Linked DNA regions of Homo sapiens: regions 1, 3, 4 and 5 are each linked to region 2. The links are contacts of gene promoters, found by promoter capture Hi-C in blood cells and fetal thymus (Javierre and others, 2016). All regions are on one chromosome and are shown on one strand. The core of a region is centred on a gene start or on the middle of the fragment in contact, and the rest is flanking DNA. Distances in the headings are between cores, read along the strand shown.

Region 1 (5,417 bases), core at 992-3,491, 260 kb before region 2:
AAAAAGACTGGTTCAATATTTTTATAAAATAACATCAGCTTTGAGCCTCTACTATAAAGACACTGTTTTCAGTTCAAAGTACCAATGTTAAATAGAATGAATGTAGTGGACTTAGTAATATGAAGAGAGCTCTTCTGGGGAAATGTTTGTAAACCAAACATATTCTCTAAACAGGATAGTTGGTATCCTGAGTAACCTGGTAGCATAGTTGAAGCTTAAATAGGCCTATTACACTGAAAGTGGAGCAGTTGGCAACCCTATCCCTGAGACTACCCCACTTCAGACCTGCAACAGTTGGGCTGACCTAGGAGGGCGCAGCTCACAGCTGTCCTTATCCCTCCTTTCCACACTGTCCTAGGACAAAGGGTCAGCAACCTGGCCTTTTTAGAGTAATTGATCCCCTTGCCTGAGAGGCATGATCACTTTCCAAAAACAGAAAGAGTGAAACCTCGGCCTGAACAGAGCAAACTCCCAGCTCAGGGCAAGTGATGAAAAACAATTCTAAGAAGCTGAGCCACTGACATAGGGAGGAACTTAATATTCCAGCTGCCTTTCAAACCCAGGGAATTTTTGTGGGTTTTCTGGTACTTCTAGAATCCTTCTGAGTCAGAAGCAGAAGTCAAGACTCATCTTGAAGATAAAAAATCAAAACAAGCTGAGATTCTGAAAATGTTATCTGAATCCAGAATAGCTTTTGTTTCAAATGCAATTGAATTGATTTAGTCTTGCTTTCCTTTTGTGCCATTTAATTACATTTAAAAATAAAGCAAAACTAGGCCTCTTACTGTACTAAAAACCCCTTTGTTCTTTTTTCACCTAGCATATCTAACACTGATAAAGAAATGTTCACAAAACCATTTTCTAGAGCTAAGAATCTCTAAGGAATTGGTTGAACTAATATAATGTACTAATTTAAGGTTTCATTGCAATCCTTCCACAATTAGATCTTTGGTTTGGAGTTTTTTTTTTAATTCACACTCAGAGTCTGTTGGTTGTGGTTGGATTACTTATTACTGTTTAACAAATGGTGCAGATCATAATTCTTCACGTAAGTCCAATATGGGCTAGATTTTGAATTCTGCATTATGAAATACTCACTGAAATGTCACAACTCATTGTGGGTGGTATTACTGAAATAAACAGCAACACTAAATATATTACTTAGAACTTTTAATTTTAATTTTACATTGAATGAACTAATATGATTTCCTTTATATACAGCACTTTAGTATGAGCAAACTATTCCCTTCGTAGTGTAACATATAGCTTTCCACTTTTTGTTCCTAGTGTAAAATTAAGATTTCCCCACCTTAGAGATAGCCCCACCTTAGAGATTCTGATTTACTAGGTTTGGGTGGGACCTAGGAATTTGTTTTTGTAACATACAACCCAGGTGATTCTGATGCTAATGGGCTGTGAACTACACTTTGAATAACACTTTTCTAACATGCAAACCACTTAAATCAACTTTATTCTTTAAAACCCATAAATAGTTTTCCTGTTTATCCAGTCAGGGACAGCCAGACTTGTAAACTGCACCTGCTTCCACAGTCTTAGTGCCCCGTCTAAAAGGAACAGGCAGGCGCTGAAGCACTCATCTTGCCGATTTTATTTCAAACGTCCAGGAGATGGCAGCAAACTCTCCTTCCCTCTCAGTGCTTCACAGGCAGCCATTCTAAAGCTCGTTGCATTACAATTTGCTTTGAATATTCTTTTTTTAAAAAAGACAAAAGACTAAAGGGGGCCTTGAGACGTGATTTTTATCTGACCCCCTGCTTCTAATCAAGAATGAGTATAAATATTTCTAGGGATAGAATAGAATGATACAATTTTATTATCTAGAAAAGAGATTGAATTTCCTTGGCTATTTTTTCTTATCTCTGGGGAAAAAGATTGTATGACTTCCCTTGGCTGTTGGGCCCTAGACTCTGTTATCTCCAAATCCAAAATATTCTTACTAATAACTAGCTTAAATCTATCTGGCAGTAATCTAAACATTCTTATTTTGGGATCTAGGCTAATGGAAAATTTTGAAGCACTTTGAATGCTTATTAGCTTTTTAAAATGAAAATAAATACGATTATAAAATTTTCAAAAGAAAAAGGAAGTTCATGCACTTTATGCATCATAGGGAAAGAGCCCAATATTTTTGTTTAACTTTAACATTAATCTTGGCAAATAGAGTAGTATGTCAACAAAATGCAAAATCAGTCAGAGGCTGCTTATATGTTACAAGAGTGTACGGAACAAAGAAACAGGCAGACCCACTTGGTGACGGCTTTGATCCTAACAAGCACATTGTTTTCAAAACTTTGAGGCACTAAAGTTTATTTCTAAAACAGAAAAGATGGTGACGTGTTGGAAGTTCTGTGATGTGAAATATATGTTTGTACATTTACCAGTGGGAGGAGAAAAGACTAATGGGAGAGCTGGATATTATAAATGATGGGTTAATGCTGGAGCCTAGGTCACTGCACAGGTTTGATGCCATGTGGTCAATGAATGACTGATCTGTTCATTGTATTTTGTTTGTTTGGTTGGTTGTTTTTTTTCTTTTGTTTTTGTTTTGTTTTGTTTTGTTTTTAGACAGAGTCTCGCTCTGTCGCCCAGGCTAGAGTGCAGTGGCACCATCTCGGCTTACTGCCATGTTTTTTTTTGTTTTGTTTTTTGTTTTTGTTTTGGATAATTGCTTAAGAATTTAGACACACATACTACTAAAGGATCTCTCTTTTCCTCTCTTTCTCTCAAATGTGTATTGATGAGGGCCTATCCATTTTAGTCTCCCCAGAAGTTACTTTTTATCTTAGGCTAAGATTACATATCCATAGCAGTTAAGAGGGCTGATGTAGTATTTTAGCTAATTCATAATATTTTTGTAAATTCATCAATGCATTTGCATGAATTAATACTAAAAGTGAAAAAATTGTTTAACAATTGTAATAGTCAATAAATACCTAACATCAAATCAAAATGAAGGCAAACTTTGGGATGGGGAGAAGTCAGGAGAATACTAAAGAATGAGATCCTTTTAATAAATGTGTGGTCTACATGGCAAAATTTGCTGTAGTATTAACATACAATGTTATCTCAAGACAATTATACATTGCAGCTTCATGAATGCATTAAGAAAGCTATGCCGGCCAGGCGCAGTGGCTCACGCCTGTAATCCCAGCACTTTGGGAAGCTGAGGTGGGTGGATCACTTGAGGTCAGGAGTTTAAGACCAGCCTGGTCGACATGGTGAAACCCCACCTCTATTAAAAACACAAAAATTAGCTGGGCGTGGTGGCACATGCCTGTAATCCCAGGTACCCGGCAGGGTGAGGCAGGAGAATTACTTGAACCTGGGGAGCAGAGGTTGCAGTGAGCCCATATCGTACTGCTGCAGTCCAGCCTGGGTGACAGAGACAGACTCCGTCTCAAAAAAAAAAAAAAAAAAAAAAAAAAAGCTATGCAAATAAAAACCAGCTGTAATAGCAGCTATAGCCATGGGCAAAATTAAGTATTTGATCTCTAATTTCGTATGTCTGATAAGTAGACACACATTCCAATAACTCCCGAGACATCCTTTCAGTGATTAATGACAGACTACAACTATATCTGGAATTAGTGTTTTCAATGGAAGTAAATGCTGCTTATTCTGAAGAAATGTAACTGGGATACTTCTGATAAAAGATGTTTCCTAAGTTTCCCATTTGTATTTGAAAAGCACATGATCGTGACCATCATTGTATACTTCTCTTTAACCCATGTTTCTCCTCCAGCAAAACAATCACACATTTGAAAATCCCACATAGTTTATGGCATCTCCATGTCTCTAAAATGAAATGACATACATGAAATTATTGTGTAAATTCCCTCAAACAGGAAAGATATCATTAAATAAAACTTATCACTTGGACCAGAGATGTGATAAAGGAATTGAGCATAATTTTTTTCTATTCTGTGCTTAAGAAAACAAGCTGTTGATGCCTTTCCTGATGAAGAGCTGGATTTATGATTCCTAATTTTATTTTTATTTATTTTATTTTTGAGATGGAGTCTCACTCTGTCGCCCAGGCTGGAGTGCAGTGGCGTGATCTCAGCTCACTGCAACCTCCACCTCCCAAGTTCAAGTGATTAAGATTCCTAATTTTAAACCTCACTCTGGGGTCATGTTTTTGACCAGGAAAACATAAATATGATAGGGAGTAAATCTTACATTTCTCAAAGAACAGTAGGTTAAACAATTTCCCCAGGGCCCAGGATATTAATCAAAGGTTCCATTTAATAAGCTTAGAAACATAGTGGACAGAAAAGCAGTTACAAAGGCCAACTCAGTCATTTTCCTCATCCTGTATTCTCCACATCTTTGTGAAATTATGTTGTCACACACTGTATAGTTGCTGTGTCTTCGTCATTGCCATTAACTCGCTTTGAATTGTCAGAGATTTTTAATGTAATTAGAAGTCGTGACAGAGGATGCTTCTAAACACATCAGTGGGAAGTTTTGGGAATGTTATTGTGCAGAGGCCAAATCAAGTTTGTTACATGGTATGCACACATTTCTTAAGAATCCTTGTTGTTAACATCATAACTGATAAGATTTTTCTCTAAAAAAGCAAAAGGCATTTTAATTGGGAAATAATTTTGCTTAAGGGCTATTAGCTCCACTTCAAATAGCAGTCACATAATTATAACTGAATACAATACAAAACATGTTAGTTTTCTGTACTGATAATCATTACTCTCATAATAAATTAAGTGCTTACCATGTGCCAGGTACCAACATTTTTCTCTACAAAAACTTCCCACATGCTGGATGCAGTGGCTCACTGGAAGCAACTTGAGAGCCTGAGGTGAGAGGATGTCTTGAGCCCGGGAGGTTAAGGCTGCAATGAGCTATGATAACACCACTGCTCTCTAGCCGGGGTGATAGAGCAAGACCCTGTCTCAAAAAAACAAAAACCCAAAAAACTCCCACAAGGTCAAAAGATTGTTTATTTTAAACAAGATCAACATTCTTTGTTTATTATGAAAATTACTTGTTTCTCCATAGAAACTGACGAAGTCTGAACTTTTTATATATACTATTCACTTTTTCTACCGTGGGAATCTAAATGAATGACGTTTACTATTTAAATCTTTTGAGGAAAGAGAGAACTTCAGAAAATATTTTGAAATGTGTTTAACATTTATTTTTTATGTTTGAACCAATTAAACTAGACTTTTATGAAAATAAACTTAAATAAGGCTGTTCCTCAAGAATTATAAAAAATTAAAACAGCAATCCCAACTACTTAAATAGAACACAGTCTATATTAATACAAGTATTGTCACAGGCTCTAACTTGTAGAGTGACATACTTCTTTTTTGAGAATAAAGAAAGGTAAGAGGGTAAAAATTGCTGGTATAGTAGTTTTTTCTGTTAACAGAGTT
Region 2 (5,431 bases), core at 270-2,769:
TCCCAGACTGGAGTATAGTGGCACGTTCACAGCTCACTGAAGCCTCGACCTCCCCAGCTCAAGCAATCCTCCTATTTCAGCTTCCCAAGTAGCTGGGACTACAGGCGTGAGCCACTGTGCCTGGCCCTCTCTGTCTTCTCTAACTTACTACACCATCCAAGAAATGAGACAGTGAGGCTTAAGACACCCAAATCTTGGTGAAAATATAGGATGGGGGTTGGGGGTGTAGAAGAAGTGACTGCCTATCAAGAAGTGAGAATTTCAGAAGTAACTCATAGGCATGGTGACTAAGGAGTTAACAGTGAGTGAACAATCAACTCCAAAGTCCAGGAGAGCTGTCTAGATGGGCTACACTGCTCTTCTCCCATAGGAGCCCTGTTTCATCTCACTGCTTCTCCTTAGCTTGTCTCTTAACACCATCTCCATTTGGTGTCTGCTTCCTCCTGCCCTATTCTCTTAAGTTCCCTTCCTTTACCCTCTGCCAGAATTGTCTTTTCAGAGCGAGTGGCGATGAAAATGGAGAGCATGGGTTTTACAAGTAAACTCTACAGAATTTTGTAACTTGGTGTTTTAGGATATGTGGATGTGTGTAAGAAAAGGGCAAAGTGTCTCAGGTTTCTGGGAGGTAACGGTGGATAAAGTTGGCGTTTACTGAAATGGTAACGCTGCAAGGCAAGTAAATTTGGGTAAGAAGCTGTTAAGAGTTCAGTTTTGGACATGTTTAGTTTGAGACAGCTGCGTGGTCTGCTCATGGTTAAACAGCTGTATAGTAAAAATAGCTTTCGTTGAGCACTTACTACTGCCAGGCAACATGCAAATCACTACGATCTCAATCTTCACTACACCCCTATGACCTGGGTTACTAATGGTCCCAAATGGCAGATGAAAAAATAAAGCTCCAAAAGGCGAAATAACTTCTCCGGTCGCTTCATGGTGCTGCAGGAACTCAAGCCTAGCTGGTTTCATTCCAAATCATGAGAAAATATGACGCCAAGTTTTCTCCACACTTCTTTGGAGACTCCCACGGACGTGCTAAAGAAGGACATTTTACTCCTAGTCCTTCTCCCCCACCCACCCGACTGCGCCACTCACCAGCTGTGTGATCTTGGACATATATAAACTCTCTGGAATTCAGTCCCCTCCCCGCCCAAAAGCGAGCAAATGATCTCTAAGCTCCTTACCACCCCAATTTTGCATTCGAGATACTCACCATGGCAAAAAATACACAAAGAGAAACACCACCACATCGAAAAGGATGAAAAGCCAGAGGTCCAACCAGTAGGAGTGTTTGGGAAGCCCATTTGCCCCAGACTGAGGCCTCACATCGAAGTTCTGCCTCCCTCCCTCGCTAAAGCCTCGCCGCTCCCGGAGACCATCTCGACCATCAACACCCGGTGCGTCCACCTCCATCTCGCTCCTGCAGCTTCGTAACAACCCTAGAAACCGAAAATGCTTAAGTTCCCGGACTTTGGTGTTCGCCGCACCGGAAACTGAGCGGAGTCCGGCCGCCTGCGCAGTGCGCCGCGCCCCGGGTTCCGGAATGCACTCTGAACCTACTCTTCCCAGCGCGCAGGCGCCTGGCTCGGCTTTCCGCTGCCTCCGTGACCGCTGGCATGAAGCGCGGCCTCCGCCTTGACACTAAGTCAATGGGCCCGCCTACTTCTGCCTCGCGGCGTCCCAGGCAGATAGCTGGTTATTCAGGTTTCGTTGGAAGAAATACGTTCTCGTCCCCCTGAAAGGCCCAGTCCAGTCAGGTGATGGACTCCTCCCTGAAACTGCACGAGGTCACCTCTCCTATCCCCGTATTCCGTTTGGATCCTTATGCCAACGTGTTAGGAAGGCCCCCTCTGGTGGGTTTTGTACTGTCTCTAGCATTTGACACTTAATATTTAAACACCACCAATGAGGTGGACGTCCTACTCACGGGACTGAGTTTCCAAACGGGCCAGAGAGCAGCACGTGAGCATTTTGCAGGTACTTCAAGGGAGTGGGTTTAAGAATAACCTGGCCGCGCCCCCCTGTAATCCCAGCACTTTGAGAGGCCGAGGCGGGCGGATCACCTGAGGTAAGGAGTTCGAGACCAGCCTGGCCAACATGCTGAAATCCCGTCTCTACTAAAAAAAAAAAAAAAAAAAAAAAAATCCAAAAATTAGCCGGGCGTGGTGGCAGGCGCCTGTAATCCCAGTTACTCGGGAGGCTGAGGCAGGAGAATCGCTTGAACCCGGGAGGCGGAGGTTGCAGTGAGCTGAGATCGTGCCACTATTGCACTCCAGCCTGGGCAACAGAGCGAGACTCCATCTGGGGGGAAATGGGGGTGGGAAGAATAACCCAAAGGTTATTTGACTTTGAGTGTGAGCCTCAGCAAGAACAGAATGCTAGCAGGAAGAAAATGACCTATACTGCCTGGATTTTACCTCGTGGGTCCAATTTCAAATATTCTCTTTCTTGTCACATTATGATTCCTGAATTGTTCAGAAAATAACGGGCACCCAGACATATAAGTGGTTCTCTTGGTGCATAGTAAATGGAGATAAGACTGTAGTTGTGTTTTTACAAAGTCATTAAATCGTCGTAAAACCTCTTTGAAGGGGCAGTACTCCATCTTATAGAATTAGGAAATGAGACACAAAAGGAGTGAATTGTCTAAGGTTACTAAAAAAATTATAAAGCCTAAAATTAACTCCAAATCCAGCACTCTTAAAGCTGTTCCATAGCTTCCTAACCTTGCTCCAATTTGCCTCCAAATCAATTGCCAGGTTTTAGAGACAAAGATAGTATACGACCTTTCAAGAAAAATGCTTTGTAGATTCTGGGATGAGAGGGCCATTACCTGAGAATTAATTAGATTGTGTGCTGTAATACAGATTGTCTGATGGTAGTAGACAAAAAGACCCTGGGCTTAAGTGGCATTGAATCTTTACAAAAATTAGGAAAGGCAAATAAACAATTGCCTCTACCAGAGATGGAAGCATTCTTCTCGCTGACAAGGTAGGATCAATTACTCCTAGTTATTGAAGTAGGATTGATAAAAAATTATTGAGATTATTAGTGTTGAAGAAGCATGACATAAACTGAACAGGTCTTGAAATGGTTTTAAACTTGTCTTTGGCCCAGAGTCACATGCTCATCATGAGGGGATGTTGACAGTATGATCTGTTCTAGAGTCAGGAACGTCTGCCAGACTTGGAAGAGCAACTAGTGCAAATAAGGAGGGGTTATTTAAACTAAATTCAGTTGAAAGATTCTATTTCCGACTTTACCCTTGTAAAAGTCCCACTGATTGTTGATTATTCCACATTACAGAAATGAGTTTAGAGTGTGTTATGGCTGATTTTGAACTACTGGCCTCAAGTGATCCTTCTGCCTCGACTTCCCAAAGTACTGGGATTACAGGCATGAGCCACCTTGCTCAGTTGGCATTTGCCATTATCAAAGCAATTTAAATTTTAAAAAGTACTGTACTGAAATCCAGGTTCACTGTCAGTCATGCAATACCTCGGCACTTGTCCAACCACCTTGAACTTTCTACTTCACATGTTCAACTGAAAAATATGCACCAGGGACTACAGATTGAATCATTGCACTGCAACCATGATCCAACACTTCCATAATTCTGTCAGCACAATTAATCTGATTGAGCTGGGGTGGAGAAGGTGGTGTATGAAAATGCTATAACCATCAGGCCAAAGACAGCTAAGTGTTTTTAAGAAGACGTTACAGATCTTCTGAACTTCAAGTGCAATAAGTTTTCAGGAGGGAGATGATGATGAATTTTGCTTTAACCTAAGGGATAATGCAAATTTTTCGTATGCAGCTCTCAAGCCAGTATATCCATGTGATAAAGCATCCTCATGATCATCCTAGGAATTAAATTAATTTTATAGAATAACCTCTCCAACAGTGGAGAATTTGGTTACTGTAATTTTCATCTGGAAATATATGTGTTTATCTTAAATTATTCTTTCTCATCTTAACTTTGTCTTTTCCTCCTTTTCAAGTTGAGTACCTGTCCTAGCAACAACCCTGTTGATTGGTACCACAGGTTATTTCTCCATCTTCTGGGTCATTTTATTTATTCATTTTGTTGTTATTGTTCTCTTCAATTCTTTTTTTTTTTTTTTTTTTGGAGACGGAGTCTTGCTCTGTCGCCCAGGCTGGAGTGCAATGGTGCGATCTTGGCTCACTGCAACCTCCACCTCATGGGGTCAAGCGATTCTCCCTGCCTCAGCCTCCTGAGTAGCTGGGATTTCAGGCGTCTGCCAGCACGCCTGGCTAATTTTTGTATTTTTAGTAGAGACAGAGTTTCGCCATGTTGGCCAGGCTGGTCTTGAACTCCTGACCTCAGGTGATCCGCCCGCCTCGGCCTGCCAAAGTGCTGGGATTGCAGGCATGAGCCACTGCACCCAGGCTGTTCTCTTTCATTCTTACTCCTTTGTATATCTTCAATAGTTTTCTTTGTTTAAGAGTTGTACTATCTGCTGGGCGCTGTTGTTCACACCTGTAATCCCAGCACTTCGGGAGGCCAAGGTGGGTGGATTGCTTGAGCCTAGGTGTTCGAGACAAGCCTGAGCAACATGGCGAAATCCCATCTCTACAAAAAATAGAAAAGTTAGCTAAGTGTGGTGGCACACACCTGTAGTCCTAGCTACTCAGGAGGCTGAATTGGGAGGATCACTTGAGGTCGAGGCTGCAGTGAACTGTTATTGTGCCACTGCACTTCAGCCTTGATGACAGAGCCAGACCATGTTCCCTCCATGCTCTAACAAAGAAAGAGTTGTACTATCATCATAACTAGGTTGCAGCTTCTCTTTTATCTTCATCTTGGCCTTAGCAGTTCCCACCTTTATACCCACTATTAATCTGGCTCTACTCTACTCAGCCAACCTGGTACCCAGGAAACATTCTTTGCTCCAGTCAGAGTGCTTTCTTCCATCTTCCTCATGGAAACTATTCTCTTGGCCTCTGGGCTTTGGTGCATGTTTTTCCTGTTAAACTGGAATGCTTTCTCACCTGTCCAAATCCTACTCATCCTTCAGGGCCCCACTTAAGTGCCAACTTCATAAAATTTCCTTCACTACAATTCACATTGATCTCTCCATTCTTGGTATTTCTAACATACCAATTGTGAAAACTTCACATTTAACTTGTCTCCACCTTCTATGTCATGTTTTCTTCTTGGGGAGAGGGTTATTTTCTCAAGATCAAGGCAGTGAATGAAGTATTTGTTTCCATAGTTTTTTGCCTTCCTTTGGCACCTATTATTTCCCTCTACATTCTGTAATGGTCTCCTATTAATGGGGCTATTTATTAGACTGGTCATCTTTCAAAATTTCCCTACCTCTGACTCAAAAAACACTGAAATTTTCTTGATATTGTCTGGCACATTGGCTTGCTTTGTAGCAATTTTATGTAAATTTTCTCCCCTGTTAGA
Region 3 (6,339 bases), core at 1,802-4,301, 310 kb before region 2:
TAACATTAGTTGCTTCCAAAATAGGTGACTGGGAGACGCAGATGTAAGAGAGAGAAAATTTACATTATGTACCATCTTGTTCCTTTAAAATGCTGTGCCTTATAAATACATTAGCTATTTAGAATAATAATGTTTAGTTTAAACATTAGATATTATCTGTTTAATTAAAAAAATCCTCTTCAGTTATTCTTCTGCTCAAAATCCTACACACATTGCCTTTGGAACAAAATCAAACTTCATCATATCGTTCAAAGCCCCTAAAATGACCCTTCTACTTTTCCCTTTACTCTGCTTTCAGTCTGCCCTCTGACACACTCCACAGGCCAGACACAGGCCAGCACTCTGGATTCTCAGGCTTCCAAACCTTTGTTTAAACCATTCCCTCTGCCAGTGGTGTCTTTCTTCATCCCAAATTGAAGTCCTACCTTCCTTCCAGCTTCACCTCAGATGGCACCAATTCCAAAGTACTTTTCCAGATCCCAGCATTTAGAACTACTCCTTCCCTTCTGTAAGTTTCCTGGCCTAAGCACTTGATGAGTCTATCAAAGTCAGCCTGGTTTTGTAGTTATTTATGCACATGACTGTTCTTATCTTTGTATATTTTGCACTGCTTGGTTCAATGCATTTCACATGATGGATACTTGGGAAGTGTTTCTGAATGTCATTGGTCCTCAAGACACTGAGAAATCCAAAATTAGAACTGTTTGGATATGAGACCCACTGGCATCTTTTTGTCATTTACTATTGTTTGTCATTGACATTAAGAAGTACAAAGCTCAATGGGTTCCCTTTAGGTCAATGCTTCTCCTAGTGTGGTCCTAGACCTGGAGCACTTGCTAATGTGAAGATTCCCAGGCTCCAAGAAACCTACTGGTTCAGAGTCTCTGGGGTAGGATATGGCAATCTGTAGATTAAATACGTATCCCAAGTGCTCCTTACGTACACCGAAGCTTCAGAGCCACTGCTCTAGTAGGATGTAGCAGGGTTTGGGGGAAGGTTGTAGAGGCAGATAATCCTTGAGGTTTGATCCTGCTTGTCTGCTCAGTGCTCCTTAGCTTCTGCCAGTCCTTCAGCCCTGCTCCTCAGCTGGGTTCATGCTCCTGGCTATGCCTCGTGCTCCTGGAACATGATTTGCCGTCTGTCTCTCCTTTCAGAAGACAGCTGAGCTGTCAAGCTCTGACTCCCTGTGGAAGCTGTCTGGTGCTGGCACATTTTGATGGAAGAGGGATGCCTCAGACTTCAACAATAATCTCATCTTTTTTCAGTCTTCTCTTCTCCCCTAAAACTGCTGTAGGCAAGTGACTATCCTCTGTGTTGTAGACAGGAGGATCCTGTGTCAAGAAAACATTGAGACTTGCCTAAGCCACTGACATATTAATAGAGTTAATGTCAAAAGCCTTGTCATCCAACTGGGCATTCTCAGTGACACTGTGTCAATCAGCAAGTCAATCAATTAACAAGTGTTTAATCAATGCCAATTAGGCATCTAGAAGTGTCTTGTTTAACATCTGCTGGCTGGGCTGGGCCCTGCACAGAACTTGGTTCAGTGTCCTTACAGTATCCCTGATCGAGGATCTAATTCTGTACCATGTCATCCACAGTTGGCTGCCTTTGTGGTCACACCAGGTTGCTGGGCTATATTTCATGTGAACACCACCATTTACTACATTATTCTGTAGGCCCTAATGAAGTTAAGAGGAGCAGGATACGGGGGCCAGCTATTTAGCCCTCCGATGTGAACAACTCTTCAGCAATCTTAGCTTGATGTTGTACCTCTCACTCTGTTAGGTTTTCCTTGCACTCCCATTGAATTAAAATTAGAAATTCTGTGGACAAGGATGTGACTCTATGAAAGAAACCTTCTTCCCCTCTGCCAATCCATATACATGTAAAATCCCCAACCCCCAGCATAAATGACCTTTGTTCTCACAATTTTAAATCCTTTTATAGGTTACAATTAATATTTAAACCCACCCTATGGTCCCCAAACCTTTCTAAAAGTAATCAGCCCATAGGATGCCCTCTTGCAAAAGGCTACATTTTCTATACTTACATTTTCATTTATTTTCTAATAGTCACAGTGGAAACTGTAACCATGAATGTACAACTCAGTAATCCAGTTAAGACTTGCTTTTTTCTGCCAACTTACTCTTTTATGAGCCAGAGATAGTAAAATAAGTCCGACATGTTTAAAAATGCCAATTCAAACTTGAATTTCTATGCCAAGAATGTTCTTTGGGTTAGGTCACTCAGAGTACTACAAACCAAATTTCATGTGGTTTTCAAAGTAGCCCCGAAACTCGACCTTCATCTCAATTGGCATTGGTGATACCAAAGGTATCTATGAGAACATCACTGGCCCATCCCAAGTTTGAGAGATGATAATAGGCACATGTGGCCATTTCCACTATATCTAGTCTAGGATTTAGTCTATGATTTAGACTACCCAGCTGTATTTTAAACTAGTCCAAACCACGACTGGCCGCAGGGAGCATAGACCTTTTCTGAGAGGGATTTTAGCTAATAATTTTACTTCCACATTGTTCCATCCTCTATTTCAGGATGCATGATGTACATACTCTTCCTTTTTCCATCTCATTTCACCATTAAATAAATGCCCTGGCTGGGTCAGAGGAACCAGGAAATAGACTGTTATTCAGTGTGCTATTGATATGGCCCCTAAAGCCTCCAACAACTTCCCTATAGACATCACAAAATGGAACAGAAAATTCTAGTGGATCACCATTGTCCATTCATAGGCACTGCAAATGTGTTATATGTCTCACTCAATAAACCAACACAGTTTTGCTGAATTATGCTAAGTCAAAGTTTTCTTTAAATCCCATTATCCTTATCATTGTTCTTGGTGAAACTGCAAATAAATAAAACCTCTAATGAGTTATTTTTAGATATCTAAATGGACACAGGAAAATGTTAATTGACTCCTCAAATTTACAGAACAAGTTAATAAAGGTAGAATAAAAGAAGAACTAGTCTAATAACTTTCTTCTAAGACTACAGTGAAATTTATTTTATCTCATAACATCGAATGTCCCAGCTAAGGAACATCAAGGAGAAATTTGATGCTTTTCATTCTTTAGAATTTCACTTTGATGCAGATAATGTTGCATTAGTTATTCTTAATTTTACTCTCTTCACTTATTAAAATGCCTAATATGGGCCAGGCATGGTGGCTCACGCCTCTAAATCCCAGCACTTTGGAAGGCTGAGGCAGGAGGATTGCTTGAGCCCAGAAGTTTGAGATCAGCATGGGCAACACAGGCTGATCGACAAAAAATAAAACAAAGTTCCCTGGGTGTGGTGGTGAGTGCCTGTGGTCCCAGATATTTGGGAGGCTATTTGGGAGGATCACTTGAGCCCTGGAGGTTGAGGCTGCAGTGAGGAAAGATCATACCTCTGCACTGCAGCCCACATGAAAAAAAAAAAAAAAGCCTAATGTGAACTCGAATTACTGCTTCTAGATTATTTTCTTCACTTAGTACTGATGCATCTGAAAGTAGAATGAGAATTGTATTGCTATTTAAGTATATTAGCAGTGTTATTACTCTGCTCCATTTTTGTTTTTAAAACATCCATTTTTATAATCACCTACTCTATGTCTAGGTCTTTAACATACCTTTTATATATTCTTCATAACATATAAGATGTGTATAATCATTATAACCTTACAGAAAAGGAAAGGGACTCAGAAATATTCTGTACCATGTGAAGTACTTTAGTTCAGAGTCTGGCAGGTAATAATTCTCAATAAATATTAAAATTATCATTATTTTTCCCAAAGCCACAGAGCTATTGGTTGGGAGAATTTGAGCTCAAATTCAAACATAACAACATGTTTTTGCTAATCTGCACATGTACTGCCTCAATTTTCACACTTGATTTCATGAGCAGGAAAGTTATTTTAGTCCTGTTTATTTGAATAGCTAGAGCAAATATTGCATAAACTATTATTTGCCAGTACTTCTAACATTAATTTATGTGAATGTACACCTGTGTAGCTTGTTGTATTTGTTCTATTTTGGTTTGGTTTTTAGGTTTTAATATTGTACACTGTCATGTTTTTATGAAAACCAATAATTTAGTGTTTTTTTTTTTTCCTGGGGATGGGAAAAAGGTGTTAATGGAGAAGCAAATAAATGTGAAATGAAACAGTTCTGCCCCAGGGAACAGCAGGAAACTTCCCTAAAAGCAGAGGTTCCTAACACAACCTTATACAGCAGGTTGAGCAAAACCTAACTCTAAAAATGGTACTTGCTTTCAACTACAAGACAGGACATTTGGATTCTGTTTAGTTTCCAACTGAAGTTTTGGAAAGTACATCCAGCATTTCCTTTAGAAAAGCTCCAAGGAGTTTCTTTACCTACGAGTTATTCTGAAAAACATTTGTGAAAATGTGGGCTTTTATTTTTATTAATAAATGGCCACAGCTTTCATTTTGGGAGGAATTCAATTGACATTATGATGAGGAGTTTCAGGTCCAGACATCCTGTGTGCCCTTTTCTCTGTAAGCACAGCTGTGAGAGCTACAGGAGCCTCACACTTGGCTTTGCCCAAGCACAGTGCCGGCATCTCTGCGAAGGTTGGTGGCCAAGGAGCCTCCACAGGAAACATGCACCTTCCCCCACCCCAAAGTCATCGAATCGCTTCAGACTTGAGGGTCTCCACATCTTGACAGAAGGCTCAACTTTGATGAAAACTTCTCTGGAAGAACACTCAACTGGTACTTATGGTGACCAAGCAGGTCTTACAGTTCCCTTCCTCAGTTAAAACAACAAAAAAAGAACAAGGTGGTCACACATAAAACAAGAGTCATTGAATTAGGCCAGAGCTAGGCTTTGGAAATTGAATTTAAAGGCCTGGAACTAGGGATCTTAACTGCATACTTTAATGTTTAAACACAGGGCAGTTGACTTGGGAAAGCATCTGAGCTTGGTTCCGGCTGCACTCAGCTGCTTTAGCCTGCTGCCCTTGCCAGAAGACCCTGAATACATTTGAAAGCATCAGGCCCTGGCTCATGATTATGCCTGTGGGATGTTGTGCCCATAGCTTGAGAGGAGGTGTTCATCTTCTGGGGGAGTAAACAGCATGTGAAGAGGTTTCTGGAGTGTAACTGGGAATAGCTAAGGCTTTGGCAAGCTTAAGACTGAGTGAGAGTCAGAGCCTGAAACTGTGACTCAAATTGGCATATGATTCTGAACTTGTTTGCACCATTCTCTAATTGTTTCATGTGTGATCATATCTCCCTAGCAAGCCTGAGGGCATCTGAAGACAGAGAGCATGCTATTTTTGATTTCCCAAAAGAATCTGACAGAGTCACGGACTCGTTTTATTGACTGACAGTCAGTGCTAGCAGTGACTTCAGCTGCAAGTAAAAAAACAGTTTGTGTTCTGAGTAATAAAGGAATGTGTCATATAGTCATGCTTCCATGGAATATCATTGATTCATCATGATAGAAATATCCTGTGAAGCAAACATAAGCCAAATGCACACAGTAACTGGGAATCTTGTGGCACAGACAGAAGAAATAAGTGGATGTACTAAGAGTTAGGGACTTGGTGGAGGAGGCCTAACTTGTGTTCACGCAGGGACACAGACAGAAGCTCTCCAAGGAGACAACACCAAGAGTCCCTGAGAGTAAGCCCTGAGGCTGCAAAGACCCCCGTCCATCAGTAGACCGATCCACTTCACTCATTCATGTACTCTCTAATTCAGATGTTAAATCTTTCATGAATACAGAGATGAATATACATGGCCTCTGCCCCTAAAGGTGAGACATATTTGTAAACAGATACATTAAAACATCAAGCATAATCCCATATGGCAGAGTGATTTAATGAGAAGACGGAAATGGGGCTGGCTTTGCATACAGGTTTTGTGATCTATTATTGGCTGTATGACTTGGATTTTTTTTTAGCCTGTTTTCTCCTCTGCAAGTATGGGTAATAATACCTATCATATTGGATTATTGAAAGAATGAAGGGAGAAACACATAGAACTGACAGCTCACATGGTGCACAGGATGGACCCTCAGGAAATGTTCTATTCCTTTCTCTCACAAAGAAACGTGCAGTGCTGTGGTTGCTCAGAGGCAAGAGCAATGGCTGCCTGAGAAAAGGAGGAGAGACTTCTCCCAGGAAATACATCTTTGCTTGACCCTGAAGAATCAATAAGTCCCTTATTGAATTATTTATTCCGCAGATGTTTACAGAGCACTATTATACACCAAATATTGTGCCAGATGCTGGGGATAAGATGGTGAACAAAACAGACATGGTCCTTGTTCTCATGGATCTTACCTTCCAGACAGAGTGACAGAC
Region 4 (5,604 bases), core at 216-2,715, 330 kb before region 2:
GATCGGAGGGACTCACGGGCAAAAGTTGGCAGCAAAATTCTCAACCATTCATTTGAGTGGATAGAAAGAAACGGGAAATAGAAAAAGTGGTTTATTTGAGAAGGCATTCATCATCGCTCCCTCTGGCTCCTATACCTCAATGCTCAAGCAATACCTTTAAAGCAGAATTGAGGTATGAGCTCTCTAGGGAGAAAGAAAAGGCAGTCTGCCTCCCCATTTTAGCTTCTGGGTAGAGACGATAGATAGAATAGGCTTGTTTGAGTTGGTTTGTCTTTCCCAGAAACCCTGGAGCACAGCTCCCCCACTTACCCTTGTAAACCCCAAGGGAGGACTTCTTCTATATAATCTTGCCTGAAGAAGGAAAGCTAGGGTATGGCAGAAGGTTTGGTCAAGATCCTAAATTGCTGTGGGATTTAGGATTGGACCCCAGGGCTGCTGCTAGTTCATATGAAGCATTTATAAAAATTTAAATTATATAGCTATGTATCATATATATAACATATATATACACACACATACTTCTGGGATGATATAACCCAAAGCTACTGTTTTACAGGGCTTGGCAAGTGAAAGACCCCCCTCCCCTAGTTCCTCCTGTATTGGGTATTACCTGAACAAATGGTGGCCTAGTTTGTCCCAGATTGTATAGATTTTACTAATGTAGGTTGAACAGATTGATGAAGTTTTTAAAGTATCTGAATCTACTCATGTACTTGAAGAGCAGGTCAGCAGGTCCTTCCTTACAAAGCTCTGAATGATTAGTTAATAACATGGTAGTTTTTAAGGAACTGTACCTCACAGTAAGTACATCTTTTTCCTCTTTATCCAGTTACTTAAAATGACAGTAATAATAGTTAACCATTATTGAGCATAATGGATATGTTCCAGACAGGCACTAAATAGTTTACAAAGATTAATTCTATGAATTCTTATAACAACCTTATAACACAGGAGTGTACTATTATTCCCTTCTAATATTTCAGAAAACAAAGGTTTCAGTGGTTGAACTCAGCTACTGAGTTAATTTCAAGCCCATTTTAGCTCCCACTCTATACTGCCCATTTTCTTTTTTCTCTCCCACCCTCTTCTTTCTTTCCTCTACCTCTGTCTCCCTATAGGAAATAAAAGTCTGCGGAGGAACCACGTAAATATGATTTTCGTCGAGCCACCTGATAACTCTACAATTGACCTTTTAGCTCTGACATTCCCTGAGACTGAGTTTTCCAACAAACAACTTCTCTTTGTTGTTTGGGTTATGCTTAAGAGCCAGCGTTCTGAAAATCCTGGCTTCAGGTTTCCAAACTAGCAGGTTGTGCTCAGAGCCTAATCCTTGCTGGATGGTAGCACATTTCATCACACAAAAACCACAGCTCCTCTTGGTCCTTGGCCTGATGCTCTGCAGCTTCTTTGGCCAACTCAACTAAAAGTGCAGTGGGGAAGCCCCATTCATGGTAATTTCCAGAGAACCATTTGCCTCACTTGGGGAAACGGGTATAGCACAATCCCTGATAGTTTCTGGACAAAAAGGTTCCATGTTTTCCCCTATGCTTTTGGCATGTCTTGGATGATTCCCTTTGGTATGAGTCATCTCCTTAAGAAATCATAAGATATACAGCATTTAACTAAAGTTTGTAACACCAGATTCTCTCCAGAAGGTGTTTTCCTTGATTTGGCTTTTTAATTCTTCTTGATTTGAAAAATCTTTATACCAAAAAAAAAAAAAAAAGTCAACTTAAAACATGGACCTATCCATGCAACTTTAAACTTTATTAGAGAATGTCATATAATGAAGACATACAGCTATTCTATAAAATGTCTAACTATGGTGAAAAAATATGTGACATTCAATGTATTAACTTTCAAATAACATAGCTTAGTGCTCTTGGTTATTGGTTTCCAAAGACTTGCTGAGCATTTCCTTGTTTGGCCTTGGAAGAATTTGCTCTGGGATTTCAGCCTGGCCCTTGACTTGCTGAAAAACCACAAGATGTAGAACAAAGAGAGCAGGCTGAGAAGCCAGTTAGTGAAAATGAAAGCAAGAGGTCCTGGCCTGAGGCTTAGTGTGTGTTCTTGAAAGAAGGAAGTTGCTGCAGGGTCAGGAGAATGTCACTGGAGGCCCTTGCACTTGCTAATGCCAATCAGACCTCATGGGCTCCAGGCAAATCAACAAAGTCTGGAGACGAAATGTTTGAATGTAACTGTTACAGCAATGTCCTGGCTCCACAGAGATGTCTTTTCTCCCAGAGGTTACTGTTTCACCATTAACCATTTAACCATTTTCTCAGCCACTCCTGAGCTCCAGTCCACTCTCCCAACTCAGTAGGAAAAGTGAGTGACAGATTTTCTAAATTAGAGCCCAGACTTCGAAAGGTCACAGCTAAGAAAGCACCCATAGGCATTTGCCTTGCCATTTAGTAAAATTTCTGACCATGATACAGTGATGGGGCAATCTAAGAAGGAAAGGGGACTGGATTTGTGTGGGTTTGCAGAGGTTAAAAGAGCAGTGTCTTCTGGGAGTCCCTGGTGGAGGAGTGATGGGTCTTTTTTCTTTTTAAAGAACTTTAAGTATATACTGACTTGCAATGGGTAGAGCAATTTTTAAAATTTCAAATGAATGGCATAACTCCCTTGTGGAGGCCTCTCTTTTCAAAGTTAAAAACAAATTTTTGCAGAAGCAAGCTCAGACTGATTTTTGAGCCCTCCTGCATTTTCCAGGTGGAAATTCCTTGGCCTTTGAACCCTGACTAAAACGTCAGAGATTATAAATCTAACTGCTAAGTATTATGAAATATAGCGTGGCAAAACAAAAACGAAAACAAAACAGAACGAGAAAATCCACAGAACGAGAGGAGTGAGGAGACCACTGTCTTAGCCTCTATGTAGTTGAGCAAGTCCAGGAGTCTTTCCAGGTCAGTTAAAAGGAGGGACACGAATCATTAGTTAACCTCAAGGGGCCCTTGCAGCTCCTAAATTGTATACTCACATAAACACAACACTCTGTCTCTGGTGGGTTACCACTGTTTTATGATATCCTACACTGTACAGCTAAGTTTTGGACCAAGTTTACAAGGTAGTGTTACTCCCTAAAACATTTTTCTGATATATTAAATTGAACTCTAAGTCCCAGAAATGCTACATAGAAATTACATTGCACTTTGTAAAAGTTGTATATGGCTCCAAAACTGCATTAGAGACTAAAAATATATTTCCAAACTCTTACATGCATGGTGTTCGTTTAAAATGGAAAATGTATTTGTAAAAAAGTACGTTTCTCTCCCGATGGTAATACTGGGTTTATATTATCCATTACCAGTGCTTTCACTGCCCTCTGCTGCTCTGAGGAGGTGTGGAGCGCCAGTCTTTTATATCCCATTGGAGAAGGCCAACTTTTCATTTATGGTCATGATTATTAATGTTCACTGGCATATTCCAAGTGTAATACTATCTGACTTGGAAAATCCCAACAATGAGGTAGCCAATGGCCTGAAACCAAAGAAGCACTGTGTTCCTGTGAACCAGGACTTTCTAAAGTCTTCTGGGGTTTTATTAAGTTCTGGGCGTTCTTTCTATAAGGTCACTAATATATGAAAATAGCTGTTATTTTGGAAGTTGATTACAAGGTTTTTTTTTTTTTTGGTAAAATATCAGTTATTGTTTAAAACATGAAAAATTAGTAGAAATGCCAACAAAAATGATTTGAGATGAGAACCTGGCCTCTTTAAAAAGTAGACTGAAGTGTAATAGAATTTCATTATGGGAATGTTCTATTGTTTGCATTTAACTATTAGATGATTAGCATAAGGAAAATATTGAGCACTTTCATTGTTTCAATTATATTTTTCTATTATTAATTAACAGCATTAGGTAAAATTTCTGTTCATTGTCTAGGACTTCTGTTTAATAATGATAGCAAAAATTAATAATCGACATATATGAGCCTTCTTGGAAATGTACTTGTAATTTGTACTCACTTTCCACCTAGCAAAAGCTTTATCTGAAAGCTGTTTTATTCCTGAATTATAAATTATCAACAGATTTCATTCTCTTAACAATTATCTGTCAAATGCCTACCATGTACCAGACATAAGCATGTAGATGAATAAACTACACTTCTACCCTAAGGTGCTCACATTTTATTCAGAACAAAATATAGATAAATAAATGTTTTATTGAGAAATTTCCAAAGGTCTTGCTATCATATGTGCCAATCAAGAGCCCCAGAAGTTTGATTGTTTCTGATCAAGATCTATGACACAGTCACTAGTGAATAACTCTGTCCCTTAGTACTCTTTAATATTCACTAAATAAAACAATAAGTTTGTATCCCTCCAATTTTTTTACTATATACCCTGTAATAACTTGATACCTCCCTTGGATAAGATGCATGAATGCTTTTACCTTAACCACCCCACATATTATTTACAAATTTGTCTGTATATGATAGAAAGATAAATATACTTCCCATAGCAGATAACCTCATTTCATTATTATAAAGGGACTGTAGTAGAAAACTGGTCTTGCTATATCCAATTACTGCCAAAATAGAGAAAGCTACAAACACTCTAGAACCAAGGTGGGTGGATTTGGCCTATGACCACATAGGCTTTCTAAAGGTTCCCTTCATCTCAGAAGCATTTGCACATGCAGAGAAGAAGTCCTTAGAAGAGGACTAGAACACGGTGGGTGCTTTATAACTCCTTGTCAATAAATGAATGAATAAAGTAATCAATCAAAAAGATCACTTTAGTTTTTCTCAGAGAAATGTCAACATGAGTTCCAGAGGACACAGAATCTTTTCATTTGTTTTGACCCCCAATGATACTTTGTCTCCTTAGACAGGCTTGTTGTTAGACCAACACTCTCTGGGGTGGCAAAAAGCTGGGGTCACTTTGGGACTGAGCACATTCTGGTGCTAGTGAAAGGTCCCGTGAGCACCTTCGCTCCTTCTCTCCCTCCGTGTTAAAATGCAATATGTTATTCTTTGACATGAAGATGAATATATGTTATATTTGATTTCTGAGATTTGCTCAGTGTCTTAAGTTAGCTGTTTTGGCTAATGTTTAGTAAATTACTCTAAACAATAAGCAGATAATTATTATGTGTCTTTTAAACTGAAAACAAAGCGAACCCATGACTCTTAAGAACAAGGAGCCAGAATCCATGGATGGTTATGTTATGCCAGTGTTTTCAAGACAGCAGAGGACTGGGCAACTATCTCAAAGGTCCCAAATGTTGAAGGCTTAGAGTAGCTCTCCTACATCCCACCATCCTTTTAGGCTTTAACTTGAAATGATCAGTTTTACTCACAATGAAGATGCACTGGACAATGTGACTTAGACCTGAGGCTAGAATGGCGCTTCCATATCTTTTAGGAATTAATGTTTATTACATTAAAGCCAATGGGTCTCCAGTGAAAGGGCAACCTGACTTATTCATTCATAGACAGCAAAGCTGGCCTGGAGAACAAAAGCTAGCTGGGCCTGCTAGGGCAGGGTTTGCCTACTTTCTGGGTCCTGAAGCACAAGTGAGCGCATCATCTGTGAACACAGTGGTCTGAGGCAGTAAGAGAAAGACCTGGCCAGCTTTTCCTTTTCAATGCAGTAA
Region 5 (6,269 bases), core at 711-3,210, 350 kb before region 2:
AACTCTGCTGTTTAACCTCTGTCATCTTCAGCCCTCTTCCTCTCCCTGTCGGGGCAGAATTGGTATAATATTAATAAAACCTAGCCCAGGAGAAGTAATCATCACACTTCTGCTTTAGAATTGATTCTCTTGTTAAAAGGCTGTTTCGAACCATATGTAAAATTAAATCAACAATGAGAACAACTTAAGAAAATGTGGCAGTTTAATTCTGGCATATGCTTTCATAGCACTGTGTGTGTGTGTTTGTGTCTATATAATATGTGTATGTACATATAAGTAATATATGCCTACATATTAACTTTTAGGACAATGTAGCTCAAAATTGACATGACTTAAATAATAATGAGTAGACTGGATACCATTAGTATTGTCCAAATGACTCTCATTGCTTAATGCCACTTTAGTTTTGGGGATCTGATTAATGTTTGATATTTCCAGGAAAGCAGAAATCATATTAAATGTCCATAATGGTCCAAAAGGAAACTTTTTTGGTTAGTTAATTTGGTTAGTTAGTAAGTAAAAGAATAAAAAAAACACTTTTTTCCCTCTCTAGAATTTTTGTAACTAGAGGTTCAAAATGTTTGGTGTTGCGCTCTGTCTGATTTCATATTTCCAATAGTGGTTTTCAAAAGATGAAAAATTTTAATTAGTTGATTGCACTAATAAGATCCGATTTGTTAACATTTTGGTTCATAGGAACAGAATGAAGAACCAATTAACCAAGTACAGGGTAAAACTCAGCAGTAGGACTAAAATGTCCATTTTCTTAAGGAAGAAAAGAAGCAGACACTCAACAACCATTTTCTGAGTCTACATGGGGAATCCATATAAATACACAAGTTTTTATTGTAGTGTGAAAGAATCAATGCCTATCAATTTACGTTACTTAATGAAGGTAAATTCCAAACCCAGCATTTCATTTTATTTGGTGTCTTTCTTTTATGTTGCTATAAAGGAATACCTGAGGCTGGATAATTTATAAAGAAAAGAGTTTTTATTTGGCTCACAGTTCTGCAGGCTGTACAGGAAGTGTGGCACCAGCATCTGCTTCTGGTGAGGACCTCAGGAAGCTTTCAAACACGGTGGAAGGGGAAGGGGAGCAGGCATCAATTGCGAAGGAAAAAGAGAGAGGAAAGAGGTGTCACACTCTTTTAAACAACCAGCTCTTATGTGAACTAATAGAGCAAGAACTGACTCATGACTGTGGGGAAGGCACCAAGACATTCATGAGTGATTCGTTCCCATGATCCAGACACCTCCCACTAGGCCCCACCTCCAGTTGGGGATTAAATTTCAATATGAGATTTGGAGGGGACAAATACCCCAATTATATACTTAGTTAACTTGCATGGGCTTAAAGCATTCACTGCAGTTAGAGTTGCTCCTCTGTGCTCAGTGGTGAAGGATCTTCCTTAATCTACCCACTGGAGGGTTTTAGAATAAGAAAGCCTGGGTTTCCTTGCAGACAAATAAAAATCTCTGAGTAGGGCCTTGGAATTTAAAAGCTTTCCAGGTAGTTCTAATGTGTAGCCAAGAACCTTTGGCAAGCCTAAGGATGCTTTGTCAATGGGAGTGATATGTCCCCCCAGGAGCATGAAAGTTGATGTGGTGGTGGTGAAAAAATTGTAGGAATGACAATGGTTCGTGGACCTCTAGAGAGCCACAATAGATAAACAGTTATACGGCAGATCCGAAGCATTTGCATTTCATGGTGGGGTGGTGGCAGGAGATTATTAGAAAAACAAAAGTCTAAAAAGACTCCCTAGGAAGTAATAATGAAAAAAAGTTGAAAAACACTACCCTAACCCTATGAAATTGCTGCTATGGCTTTTGGTAGTCCAACTTCCTTCCAAAATGCAAATCTAGTTGAATGCTCTTGCAGGTATTGGTAGAGAAAAATAGCATCTTTAAATTATGTTACAGCCAAGTGTGGTGGTTCACTCCTATAATCCCAGCAATTTGGGAAGCCCAGATGGGCAGATCACTTGAGGTCAGGAGTTCGAGACCAGCCTGGCCAACATGGTGAAACCTGTCTCTACTAAAAAAAAAAAAAAACAAAAATTAGCTGGGTGTAATGACACATGCCTATAATCCCAGCTACTCGGGAGGCTGAGGCAGGAGAGTCGCTTGAACCCAGGAAGTGGAGGTTGCAGTGAGCCCAGATCAAGCCACTGCACTCCAGCCTGGGCGACAGAGCAAGACTCTGTCTCAAAAAATAAAATAAAATAAAATAAAATGAAATATTCTATTACATGTCAATCACTGAACTAGGGGCTTCTACACATGCTATCAAGTCGATCGTCATTACCCTGCACTTTTTTTTCAGAATACAAATCACAAATATAATTAGTTTTACTTGATTTTTGTTTCAACTCTATTTTCAAAATGATTTATAATGAAAGTTACTGTCTTTATGAAGCTTACAAAAAATTCCATTTGAAGCTATGAGGCCACTAGGTAGCTTTAGCTTTAAATTGCTTTCACGTTAAATAATTGTCAGATGCATTTAACCAAGTTTGAAAAAGATGACATTCTGTTAAAAGAAATCACAATAGAAAACTGCCACATTCCATTCTCAATAATACTATTTTTCTAAAGAATTTTAGAAAATCATCATTTCATTAATTTGTAATAAGTTTTAGTGTATAACACCCACAAAAGGCAAGTATATTTAAATACCAATGGTTGCATATAATCTTTTGCAAGGATATAGGTTTGTTTTAAAATGTATCTGGGATTTTATTTTGTTCAGTTATAGCGAGGCCAACAGATCAGGAGATAATTACCATTGAAAAGATAGTTTGCTACTCACAGTTCCCAAGGGTAGGGCCACACAGGACAGCCCAGGGAAACACCAGGGTCAGTCAGAAGCAGAAGCAGAGAGCAGAAGGCATGGGCAAGAGCCTGTATTGTGGTTTCTACAGGAAGGAATGCGCCAAGCAAGGGGAGTAGCTGAATAGGCTTAGGATTTGATAATTTAAATAATTTTGGCAGGTTCTGGGTTATAAGAATGGTCCCCAACTGTCTGGTACCTGGTGCTAGGGTGACTAGGACAGAGGAATATTGCTTCTTGGAGTGTCAGAGCCAGGTAGAGGAGGCAGTGGGAATGTGGACTCAGGGTTGGTTGGCTTACTTATGAAAATGTGCTCACAGGCAAGTGGACTATCTCTAGGAATCACCTAAGCCTTGGAAGGCCAGTCTCTCCTTGGTTAGTGAGGTCCCACATGCCAGAGCATAAGAATACAGAAAATAATATTGTTAAAACAGGGTTTTATAGTTAATAAAAGGTTGAGTCTCAGAAATTCAGATCCATAAACTCGATTGGTTGTGAAAAAGGAGAAAGCTATCCAAATGTCATGAAGAAATATAACTGGGTGCAATGAAATCTGGTCCATTTCTACACAACCAGTGTAAAGATATTGAAGTCTTCATGCCATTGTATACATAAGTCAAGAGAAATTACCTATCCTAAATGGTGAAACTTGTTGGGAGGAGGCAGATGGAGGCAGGATTTTATTGACATTGTGGTCTTGCTATTTATATCTCCTGTCTTATTTCTCTGTGTGCTTGGTCTATACAGACAGTGTGTAACTGATGGGAGTTTAGATACTTTCTATTACCACAGATCTTAGTTTGTCTGTGCTGCTAAAAATACCACGGTTCTGGAGGCTATGAAGTCCAAGATCAAGGTGCCAGCAGGTATCTGTCTGGGGAGGGCCCCTTCTCTGCTTCCAAGATGCTGCCTTGTTGCTGCATCCTCTGGAGGGGGAGAATGCTGTGTCCTCATATGGGATGGAAAGGGAGAACTGGTCCCCTCTAGCCCTTATATAAGGTCACTTATCCCATTCATGAGAGCTCTGTCCTCATGACTTAGTCACTGCCTAAAGGCCCCACCTCTTAATACAATCACACTGGCAATTAAGTTTTGACACATGAATTTTGGAGGACATTCAGACTATAGCACCAGACAATGCCAGTACATGAAGAAACAGCAAGTTTGTTGGGACCCAAGGGCAAAAATCTGTAGTTTCAAAAAGTATGAAGAGTTTTGTTATTGTTGTAGTTGTTATTTTTACTGCTCAACAAAATGAATACAACATTGTATCAAAAAAATCTAAATTTTATAGTAATATAGGCCATGGCTGAAAATCTAACCCAGGTATTTAGTACTAGCATGTTACCTTTCCAAACGTGAATTTTTCATAATAAAATTCATGTTGTAATACCACTCTGGAGGCTAGAAATAATTTGAAAAACGTAGGAAATAGTTGAAGATTAAAATATAAACTTTTTTAAGAAGCTAAAGCTGAATTTGAGAATGTGGCTAAGATGTGCAACCACAATGAACTTTTTAATATTTCATCCCAGAATTAAACTTCTCCTTCCAGTCTCAGGCAAAGGAGAGGGCCCACTCTTCCAAATATAGCTGAGAATACAACCCAAGTAAGGAGTCTTAAAAGGGACTGACCTGAGCTAGGCTTTCTCAGTCCCTTCTGTTAGTCTCAACAATCAGGCAAGACAATTATCCTCTGTCTTGAAGAGTGAGTGAAGGGTTATGAGAGAAGTGCATGAGTCCCCAACCTCCCAGCTCTGGAATAATTACAAGCAGGGACTGGAAATCCCCTTGCACTACTTTGAAGATTATTGTGAAGATCAATTACAGACGATGTATGCAATCTGTCTATCCACAGCAATAGGTATTTTCAATGGAAAGAGATAGTTAAATTAATCAAGACTTCATTTACCACATAGAGGATTGTTCCTTCTTCTGATAATGAAATTTAGTAAAATCACTTCTTTTTTATTTTTTTCCATATCTAAGAGTAAACTTTTTTTAAAATTTTATTTTATTATTATTATACTTTAAGTTTTAGGGTACATGTGCACAATGTGCAGGTTTGTTACATATGTATATATGTGCCATGTGTAAACTTTTTAATTCACAAGAAAAGCAGATGTTCTGTATGAATTCAAGTTACTTGTAATTATGTATTTTGAATTAACTCTAATTAATTTTATATACAATTCTCAAATTTCATTCTAGTAAGACAGGTAAAATTGGTAAAAATATCAGAAATAATGTAATACCAAACTGCAAACATGAATATTATATTTTACTATTTCAATTGTTATTGTTGGTATTTTAGTTAATCACATTGGATAGTAGGTACTTCATTCATCATTCTAGATAGAACAATTTAGCACATTTGTTCAAAAATGAGGATTTGCTCTCTCAGCAATGATACCAATATATATTGTTTATTAAGAGCTTTATGCATCAGACAGTGTGCTGGTGCTTTACAAAACTTTATTTCTAATAGTATAACAACCTCGGAAGGAATTATTATGATACCAATTTTCTAAAGGAGAAAACTGAAGGTCAGAGAGATAATTTTTAAAAAATTATACAGAATCAGAGTAGTGGAGTCAGGATTCTAACCCTGAATCCTGCAAATTCTTTCCTTTAAATATGTCTTTCTGCCTTTCTGTAGGAGAATTTTATGTGAAAAGAAAGAAAACAAGATTATAGTTCCCTCAATGTAACTAACAGAAGTGACCTTGGAACTTCACTTGATTGAAGTATATAAGGGACAGGAAGACAGCCCTTTTTTAAAGGCTCAGTATGAGTTTAAACACGTTGGTCATCTTCACGTTGTTTGGTTGATTTATCCAAACGATGTTGAGAGCTTAGAGAACAATAACACAAGTTTTCCTGCATTGATTCTAATTTGACGCTTTTAATGAGCACACCATTGTTTTCATGGTTTTTTTATACCCTGAACGTCTCCCTTCGTAGGATTCATCACAATTGTAAATTCTTTGTTGAAGTTTGTGTCAGATTCTAACCCCTGAGCAGGGCAGTGATGACTTAGTCGTATCACTGTATCCCCCATTGCCCAGTGCGGGGGATAGGACAGGTGCTCATTACACATCCATTGGCTATTTGAATGAGTTAATGACTAATGGTATAGGGTTCTCAGAAATGAGTGGCAGAGGTATTATCAACTTCAGCCAAGAAAAGGAGAGACTCTGGAGGACTCAATCTTCCTTGAACTGTAGCCTTTTTTTTTTTGATAATTAAAAATTACTCAGAATTGCACACACCATGAGGCTTTCAACACTTTGTACCATATGGAAATATCTGTTACATTTTCATAATTTGCATGTATAACTGCAAAATCACAATGCTTATTTTAGATTCCTAGGAATTAATGTAGATTGCCAAAGATCACCAGTGTGAAGCTCATAAGCCAGCATAAAATAAGGTA

What was found. Contacts are between HindIII fragments. The CHiCAGO score rates a contact against its expected background, and 5 or more counts as called.
Region 1: a fragment that was not itself captured here is called in contact with the fragment with the promoter of ARLN in region 2 in 13 of 17 cell types (naive CD4 T cells, total CD4 T cells, monocytes and 10 more); the score reaches 10.4 in naive CD4 T cells.
Region 3: a contact is called between a fragment that was not itself captured here and the fragment with the promoter of ARLN in region 2, in 5 of 17 cell types (M0 macrophages, M1 macrophages, monocytes and 2 more). The highest score is 9.4, in M0 macrophages.
Region 4: a fragment that was not itself captured here is called in contact with the fragment with the promoter of ARLN in region 2 in 1 of 17 cell types (M0 macrophages); the score reaches 8.1 in M0 macrophages.
Region 5: a contact is called between a fragment that was not itself captured here and the fragment with the promoter of ARLN in region 2, in 1 of 17 cell types (monocytes). The highest score is 5.3, in monocytes.

Annotation. Positions count from the first base shown.
Region 1 is chr4:119,040,518-119,045,934 of GRCh38, forward strand. The region is part of intron 4 of SYNPO2 (synaptopodin 2); the gene reads left to right. Among named protein-coding and RNA genes, the nearest start is that of SYNPO2-AS1, 59 kb to the left of the region's middle. The HindIII fragment of the contact is 4,059 bases long and covers 213-4,271 here.
Region 2 is chr4:119,299,126-119,304,556 of GRCh38, forward strand. ARLN (allregulin) reads right to left here and starts at 1,520. Exons shown (of 2, transcript NM_001001701.4): 1 at 1,211-1,520. The coding sequence starts at 1,410. RefSeq lists enhancers at 1,114-1,163, 1,264-1,493. The HindIII fragment of the contact is 14,870 bases long and covers 1-5,431 here.
Region 3 is chr4:118,984,208-118,990,546 of GRCh38, forward strand. All of the region lies in intron 1 of SYNPO2 (synaptopodin 2), which reads left to right. It overlaps SYNPO2-AS1 (SYNPO2 antisense RNA 1), which reads right to left and starts at 512. Exons shown (of 3, transcript XR_939120.3): 1 at 426-512. The HindIII fragment of the contact is 4,207 bases long and covers 949-5,155 here.
Region 4 is chr4:118,966,151-118,971,754 of GRCh38, forward strand. The region is part of intron 1 of SYNPO2 (synaptopodin 2); the gene reads left to right. The region is part of intron 2 of SYNPO2-AS1 (SYNPO2 antisense RNA 1); the gene reads right to left. Among named protein-coding and RNA genes, the nearest start is that of SYNPO2-AS1, 16 kb to the right of the region's middle. RefSeq lists an enhancer at 1,917-1,966. The HindIII fragment of the contact is 5,041 bases long and covers 1-3,986 here.
Region 5 is chr4:118,947,539-118,953,807 of GRCh38, forward strand. All of the region lies in intron 1 of SYNPO2 (synaptopodin 2), which reads left to right. Among named protein-coding and RNA genes, the nearest start is that of SYNPO2-AS1, 34 kb to the right of the region's middle. The HindIII fragment of the contact is 914 bases long and covers 1,504-2,417 here.